3 separate regions of the Homo sapiens genome follow, and all the other regions are linked to region 3. Evidence: promoter capture Hi-C in human tissues and cell types (Jung and others, 2019). All regions are on one chromosome and are shown on one strand. Each heading gives the region's core, a stretch centred on a gene start or on the middle of the fragment in contact. The rest is flanking DNA. Distances are from core to core; before and after follow the strand shown. Region 1 holds the start of LOC107984850 (a long non-coding RNA gene). Region 2 has its middle 20 kb from the start of LINC02593. Region 3 holds the start of TTLL10 (tubulin tyrosine ligase like 10).

The links. Contacts are between HindIII fragments. The study calls those that stand out against the background at their distance.
Region 1: a fragment that was not itself captured here is called in contact with the fragment with the promoter of TTLL10 in region 3 in 4 of the 25 tissues and cell types used here (heart left ventricle, mesenchymal stem cells, mesendoderm cells and 1 more).
Region 2: a contact is called between a fragment that was not itself captured here and the fragment with the promoter of TTLL10 in region 3, in 2 of the 25 tissues and cell types used here (dorsolateral prefrontal cortex and mesenchymal stem cells).

Annotation. Positions count from the first base shown.
Region 1 is chr1:859,136-861,835 of GRCh38, forward strand. LINC01128 (long intergenic non-protein coding RNA 1128) reads left to right here. Exons shown (of 4, transcript NR_047524.1): 4 at 1-311. LOC107984850 (a long non-coding RNA gene) reads left to right here and starts at 1,092. Exons shown (of 3, transcript XR_001737608.3): 1 at 1,092-2,138. The HindIII fragment of the contact is 3,261 bases long and covers 1-2,700 here.
Region 2 is chr1:898,287-900,986 of GRCh38, forward strand. No RefSeq gene overlaps it. Among named protein-coding and RNA genes, the nearest start is that of LINC02593, 20 kb to the right of the region's middle. The HindIII fragment of the contact is 9,929 bases long and covers 1-2,700 here.
Region 3 is chr1:1,172,553-1,175,252 of GRCh38, forward strand. It overlaps TTLL10 (tubulin tyrosine ligase like 10), which reads left to right and starts at 1,328. Exons shown (of 16, transcript NM_001130045.2): 1 at 1,328-1,374; 2 at 1,733-1,769; 3 at 1,872-1,937. It overlaps TTLL10-AS1 (TTLL10 antisense RNA 1), which reads right to left. Exons shown (of 2, transcript NR_173246.1): 2 at 504-2,700. RefSeq lists a silencer at 1,478-1,567. The HindIII fragment of the contact is 14,261 bases long and covers 1-2,700 here.

The DNA of each region.
Region 1 (2,700 bases), core at 150-2,649, 310 kb before region 3:
AAGTTAAAAAAATTATTTAAAAAGCACATTCTTATTATTAAAATTTTAGAAAGTACAGAGAAGGAAATTTTAATAACCTACACCTAGAACACTAAGATACTGGTAACGTAGAAAAATGTGTAGTTAATGCCTTGATGGATTCTTTTCTATTTTTTTCTCTAGCAATATTTATGTCTATCCACAGAAAGCGTACACTCATGTATTTGCATGGCTAATATATTTTATGTAAAGTTCTATATATTTCTCAACATTTCACTTAATATTTCTTTATAAACATTTTTCCAGTGAATAAAAATTTTTCCAAACAGTAATTTTAATGACTATATAACATTTCATTGCATTTATATATCATTTGTTATTTAACTACTTCATCATTTTGGATTCACATATTTTCAATAATTTCCATTATAATAATAATGTCATGAATACCTTTGTACAAGAATATTTATATTTCTAATTATTTCCTTAGTCTAGTATCCTAAAAACTAAAATTCCTACATCGAAAGGTCAATGTGTATCACGGCTCTTGATTGACATATTGATTTCCATGAAGCTTTCATCAATTAACCCATGAACAGTGTCTGCAAGTGCTCCTTGCCCCATACCTTCCACAATGTGGACTCTTATTGGAAGTATCTAAATTTCACTTCAGAATTGCAGCCCTGAGTTATTAAACACACCTCTACTACACCTATGAAATTGTCTACAAATTGTCTTAGTTTCTTTTCAGCTTTGATTTCTAGAATTGCATGACATTGAAGACAAATGATATAATACCCATAAAGAAGGTTTTATGACCTCTTTCATTATCTCCAACAATCAGAAAGGCAAATTCACAGTAGAGGGCTGAGAAATCTTATCTGAAAATTAACTAAAATGCTGCTTTTGTCAACAGAATTACTTGGGCTTCATTTCATTCCACAATTTCCTGTGTACTGTTTATTACAAGAAGAAAAAATTTCCTGCCATACAAAATGCTCCATGCAGGTAGAACCAGGAATCTAAAGAAACCTGAGGAAGGTGCTAGAATCATCACTACCATCTTTTTTTTTTTTTTTTTTTTTTTTTTTTTTTTTATGGAGACAGGGTCTTGCTCTTCACCCAGGCTGCAGTGCAGTGGTACAATCTTGGCTCACTACAACCTCCACCTCCAGGGGCTCAAGCGATCCTCCCACCTCAGCTTCCTGAGTAGCTGGGACCACAGGCAAACGCCACTGTGCCCAGCTAATTTTTAAACCTTTTTGTAGCAACAAGGTCTCACTATGTTGCCCAGGCTGGTCTTGGACTCCTGGGCTCAAACAATCGTCCCGCCTTGGCCTCCCAAAATGCTGGCATTCCAGGCAGGAGCCACTGTACCTGGCCCCACCTTCTTTTTGCTGTAGGCTGAGCACAGGAGAAGTTGAATTTATCAGGGAACCTAAAGACATGCCCTTCTTTGAAGGCAGAAGTCCTGTCCACGTCAAATGCCCTCCCTCCATCCCTCCCAGCTCCCTAGTCATCCTTCCTATTCTAGGCTCCAGGAGCGAGACCTCCTCCATGTGCCTGCTAACGTCAGTGCCACGGGCCCTCTTTGGTTCTCCTGCCCACCTTCTCTGACTCTGCCCAACACCCACGGGCCAGAGGCCCTTTTCCTTCTTGGCACTTCTCGGTGTTGTAGCAGGATGAGCCACGGACAAAACCCCTCAGACGCCGGGTTAAGGAATGATTTGGTTTTATTCGGCCAGGAGCTTCAGCGGACTCAAGTCTCAAGAACCGAACTCTCTGAAGACAGAGTTCCTGGCCCTTTTAAGGGTTTACAACCTTTAGGTTCCACGTGAAAGGGTCGTGATAGATTGAGAGCACATGCGTTTAGAGTGGGGTGGGGGGGTTAATCTTTTAACCTCAGGCCTGATCATCAGGGGCACCAGCTGGTCTTGCCACTGACTTCATTCCTGTTGTTTTTCAACTTTTACTTCCTCCTCCTCTTCAGACAGGAGACAGTAAGAGAAATGGCCTCTCTCCTCAGCGGCACAATGGACTTTAGACATCGCGCCTGTTTTGTACTCTCCAAGCCGGACTTCTCTACTCGCTGGCCTGGCGCTGATGCCCAGAGGCCCCCTGTGCTTGTGGTCGTGGCCTTAGACAGTTCCCTGCCCTTTGTAAGTACTAACTTAACTCTTGAATGTGGACGTTTTAAGCTGACTTTTCTTCTCAGCCCTCTGTAAGAGTTTCGAATCTCCCCATAGCAATCAATGTAATTGTTTTCACCCAGGGTGTTGGTCCTGGCTGCTTCGATTTTAAAGTAATCTCTCATTTTGCTGAGGAGAATTTATTAGAGTAAATGACTGTTTTCACCTGTCATGTCACATTAAAATGTGGAGAGAACTGGTTGTAGGGGCAGTCAAACTGGCTGTGAGACCCTTCGAGCAGCCATGCATCTCCTGGACAGCTCGAACACTGATCAGGGAGGAGATACTGAAAATAAGAAATAAGAATTGCCTTTATATGTGTGTATGAGTATAGACACATACATCATGTACATGTATGTGTGTATGTGCATATGTGTGCATGTGAAGATGGATAGATGATAGATACATAGGTGATTTATGTATAGGTAGATGACAGATATTGGTAATTAATTGATAGTAGATAGGTTGATAGTATATAGGTGATTGATAGATGGATGATAGATCATTGATAGATGATAGGTAGATAGTAGAT
Region 2 (2,700 bases), core at 153-2,652, 270 kb before region 3:
GGGAAATCAGGGGTCTCACAGCCTTCAGAGCTGACAGCCCCGAACAGAGATTTACCCACATATTTAGTAACAGCAAACCAGTCATTAGCATTGTTTCTATTAACTAAAAGTATCCCTTACGGGAAATGAAGGGATGGGCCGGAATAAAGGGGTGGGTTTGGCTAGTTATCTGCAGCAGGAGCATGCCCTGATGGCACAGATCGCTCATGCTATGTTTGTGGTTTGAGAACGTCTTTCAGCGGTTTTCCACCCTGGGCGGGTCAGGTGTTCCTTGCCCTCATTCCGGTAAACCCACAACCTTCCAGCGTGGGCGTTAGGGCCATTATGAACATGTCACAGTGCTGCAGAGATTTTGTTTATGGCCAGTTTTGTGGCCAGTTTATGGCCAGATTTTGGGGGGCCTGTTCCCAACAGTAACCAATATTAAGTCATTCTCATTTCAACATTTAAACTCTTCCAACTGAATGCATTAAAAAACAAAAGTCACACACCACTGTACCCCTTATATGTACACAGCGGTCGGCAAACATGTGACAGGTGGAGGTCCTGAGGCACCACTGGGAGCTTGTGAGCGGATGGGCGTCTTCCAGAACGCACTCTGCAGGCACTCGGCAACGTGAAGTGTTCACGTCCTGTGATGCAGCCTCTGCTCCAGGCCACTTCCGGAACTGCGAGGGAACAGCTGTGGGCGCGCTCATTTCAGCTTTGCTTCAGATCCTGGGAGTTGGGGGCACCTTCTTTTTTTTTTTTTTTTTTTTTAGACGGAGTCTTGCTCTGTCACCCAGGCTGGAGTGCAGTGGCGCGATCTCGGCTCACTGCAAGCTCCGCCTCCCGGGTTCACGCCATTCTCCTGCCTCAGCCTCCCGAGTAGCTGGGACTACAGGCGCCCGCCACCGTGCCTGGCTAATTTTTTGTATTTTTAGTACAGACGGGGTTTCACCATGTTAGCCAGGATGGTCTCGATCTCCTGACCTCGTGATCCGCCCATCTCGGCCTCCCATAAAGTGCTGGGATTACAGGCATGAGCCACCGCGCCCGGCTGGGGGCACCTTCTGGCCCACAGTGAGGGAATAAGCAAACCAGAATGGGGGGTGCCTGCACGGAATACTCCTAAGTGCTCAGACACGGCGTCCACAGATGGATCCAAATCAGTGCTGGATGACGGGCACTCACCCCAGGTCTGCAGTCCAATAACACGGGCCTGAGCAGAAAGCACGTGGCATGGAGCCCCGTGGCAGATATGGGGACGAGCGGCCAATACATCAGCTCAGGTGTCCGAGGGGTTTCAGGGACATGAGAGAGAGTGGGGAACGAAGGGGGAAATCGCTTGGAGACCCAGGACGAGCCTGGCACACCAGGATGCTGATTCTGAAAGGGCGATTAAGGAGATTCCATGTTTTAAAAATCTGGATTTCTGGCTTCTTCTGAAAAAAATCAGAAGATGTTTAGCACAACAGCGTGGCATCGTCAGCTGTACTCCTGCCCCACTGTCCCCCAGGGAGCCTGGCTCATCCCATGGCTCACAGAGGCCCACACTGTGGCCAGACAGGTCCACTGATGGCTCAGCACGTGCACCCCGGCTGCAGGGAGATGGGTACCAGCCCAGGAAGTGGGACACTGGCTGAAACAGGATGGGATGCAGGGATGGGGTGGGATGGGAGACCAAACCAGTGTGAGGAATGAGGATAAAGGAGATGCTGGAGATAAAATCTGGGCAAGTAAGCAGGGGGTGGTCCTGCTGGCTGAGGCCAGAGATGCCAGCCCACTCAGACTCCTGCGCTGGCCCTTCCACACCATCCCAGGCCCAAGGCCTCCCACACACAGCGTCACATACACAAACAGCACCCTCCTCATGGCAACAGGTGACCCTGCCCCTTCACAGACCTCCCTGCCCCCACAGTCACCCCACATTTTAAAGGGAACTTGAGTCCATCCTGATATGTAAACGTGAGGTTAAATATCTATCATGGGGGAGAACAGACAAATCTCCAGTGCAGAATAGTTCTAAATAACCTAAGTGGAGGCTCCACTCTTGAGGAGATCCAGCCTAACTCCCCACCTCTCCAACGCGGCTCATCGCAGCGACCTCCTTCTTCCAACGTGGCTCATCGCAGTGACCTCCTTCTCAGGAGTGCAGAGTGGAGGTCAGTGGTGGAGTGAAGACGGACCAGGGTTAACATCGGCAGTGATCACTTGACCTCTGCACACTTGACTCTGGGTCTTTCTCCCCAAAAAAAACCAGAACCTCAGTATAATCGTGAGGAAAATAGACAAATCCTAATTGAGGGACATTCTCCAAAATACCTGACTGGCCCTCCTCAAAACTGCCAAGGTCATGGAAAAAGGAAAGTCTGAAAAACTCACAGTTTAGGAACCTAAAGAGACTTGATTACTAAATGGAATATATCCTGGGATCCTGGAAAAGAAAAGGACATTATGTAAAAACTAAGAAAACCTGAATAAAATGTGGCCTTTAGTTAATAAGAATCCATCAATATTGGTGCATTCGTTGTAACAAGTAGTTGTAACAAGTGCCACGCTAATGTAACACGTTAGTACCAGCGTAACTGGGTGCCAGGCGTTTGTAAACTCTGTTCCGTCTTCTCAATTGTTTTGTGAATCTAAAACCGTTCTTTAAAAAGAGTTTATTTAGTAGGCTGGGCATGGTGGCTCACACCTGCAATCCCAGCACTTGGGAAG
Region 3 (2,700 bases), core at 78-2,577:
GCCAGGAGCCCAGGACTCCCAGACCTCGTATCATTAGGTGTTTTAAAGAGAAGGCGAGGGCAGGCCAGGCGCAGTGACTCACGCCTGTAATCCCAGCACTTTGGGAGGCCGAGGCGGGCGGATCACCTGAGGTCAGGAGTTCAAGAGCAGCCTGGCCAACATGATGAAACCCTCTAAAATTAATAATAAATTAATAATAAAATAATTATAATAATATAGAAAATAATATATAAAATAATAAATATATAAAATATAAAACAAAATAAAAATAAAAAATAAAATTAATATTAAAAATACAAAAATTAGCTGGGCACTGTGGTGGGCACCTGTAATCCCAGCTACTCGGGAGGCTGAGGCAGGAGAATTGCTTGATCCTGGGAGGCGGAGGTTGCAGTGAGCCGAGACCGTACCATTGCACTCCAGCCTGGGCAAAAGAGTGAGACTCCGTATTTTGAAAAAAAAAAAAGAGAGAATGTGAGGGTTAAACAAAGACACACAGAGATGGAGAAAGGGCAGCCTTACATCAACACGGGTACATTGCAAACACCTGCAGAGGTGGGGGACCAGCTGGATGCCAGAGCCCACTGCCGCCTACGGGCTGGGGTGCCTATAGGTATGGGTGGGAGCGGCCCGGGCCACACGGCTTCAGGATGAGGCCGTTTGTTTGGCCCTTGTTCCCGCAGAAGGTAATCGTGATGTTCCTCGGTGTTTTTCCCCGCAGAGTGTTCAAGTCAGGTGTCGGGCAGGCTGTTCCTCACGGCCCAAACCCCTGCGGAATGCTTCACTTTGGCCGAGGTCTGTGACACAGCGAGGGGCTTACAGAAAGGTGCAGTTTGGACCGATAGATGTGAGTCCCCCTCTGGGGGGCACTCACTTTGTGGAGCCCCCGGTTCCTGTTTGCAGAGGGGGGCACAGTGGCACCTCGTCCGCTGTGGAGTGAGAACAGGGACCCGACCACGTGAAGCACAGAGAATGCTCAGGGATCGGCAGCCGTGTATCCAGCCAACATCACCAGGGTGCACGCAGAGCCTGGCCCGGGCCAGGTCCTGGGGTGCTGAGCATGGGTGGGGCCTGAGAGACGGCTCAGGGACCATCCTGGGAGGGCCGGGCGGAGGGGCAGCAACTGGGGCTCAGGCTCAGGCAGTCCCAGCAGTGACTGGGAGGCAGCTGTGCCCATGAAGCTGTGCCCTTCTCCAGCCTCAGCCCTCAGCCCGGCTTCCCGGGCTGGCCCCGCCACTCAGCAGCCCCTCCCCATCCTCCGAAAACCCAAGCTCACCTCTGGGTTCCGGCTGGGTGGGGGTTGCCAGGAGACGGTTGCCAGGTCACCACTGTTGTTTCCTGGCCCAGGCTCCCAGGACCTTGTGGGCTGGGCAGGTAAGAAGCGCCGGCGGCCACCAGCTGGGGTCCAGTGGGCTCGGCCCCGCCCTCCTACGCCCTGCCTGCGGGTCCCCTCGGGAGGCTGCTCAGGAGAGGAGGAGGCTGGGGAGGGGACTGGACAGGGATCGGGTAGGGTGGGGCCAGGCTGAGCCTGCTCTGCGGGTCCCGGACCCCAGCGCCACCGTGCGAGAGGCTCGGGTCCAGGCCAGGCCGGGGAACGGTGTGTGTACCCGGTGGGGTGGGAGGGCTGGGCAGCCCTGGGACGAGCTCCGTGGCCTGGGACCAGGTCTGCCTCCGCAGAGCAAGTCCTGGACGGACGGCTGCTTGAGCCCACAGGTCGTGCGTCCTTTGACAGCGGCCTCCGGCCGGGAGGCACCAGCTCTTCGAACAATGTCAGTACCTTCCTAGGGCCCCACGTGGCCAAGCTTGGATTCTGGGGGGAGAACTCGCAGCAGGACACTAACATGTGGTCGCTTTTTGGATGATTTCTTCAGGTTTAAAAGTCTCTTCTGTTCATCCTACCGGGGTGCCGTCTCCTGCCGGTCTTTTCATCTCACCAGGTAAAACGCTTATTTTACAATTTATTGTAAGGTCGTGCACCAAGTTTCCACGCCGCCTTTACACCGTGTCCCCACCGAGGGGCGTCACAACCGTCCTCCACACCGGGCGTCACCGGCTTCCCAAGTCCCACCGCTATAAAGGACACGTCAGTCAGCATCTCGGAGTGAGACGCTTTCCTTCTGGATTCAGAATCGCGTCCGTCAGAGACTCCAAAGCACATTTGCTAGATCGACAGGCGTGAGGAGCCAGCGGCTCCCGGCGCTTGGGAGGCTGCGTCCCACCTGCATTCAGGCCCCGGGTTCACCACACACACAGCGGGCAGCTGCTTAAGAAACCTTTGATTTCAGTCCGGGGCGGTGGCTCACGCCTGTAATCCCAGCACTTTGGGAGGCCGAGGTGGGCGGATCACGAGGTCAGGAGTTTGAGACCAGCCTGGTCAACATGGAGAAACCCTGTCTCTACTAAAAATACAAAAATTAGCCGGGCATGGCAGCAGGCGCCTGTAATCCCAGCTACTCAGGAGGCTGAGGCGGGAGAATTGTTTGAACCTGGGAGGCGGAGGTTACAGTGAGCCGCGATTGCGCCATTGCACTCCAGCCTGGGCGACAGAGTGAGACTTCGTCTAAAAAAATTAAAAAAAAAAACACCTTTAATTTCAATGACAAGAAATAACAGCTCACAACTTATTTAGTTATTTGTGAACATCATAAGGACATAAAGTTAGAAAAGCCCAAAGGAGGCCTCAGGCTTACGATGAAATCA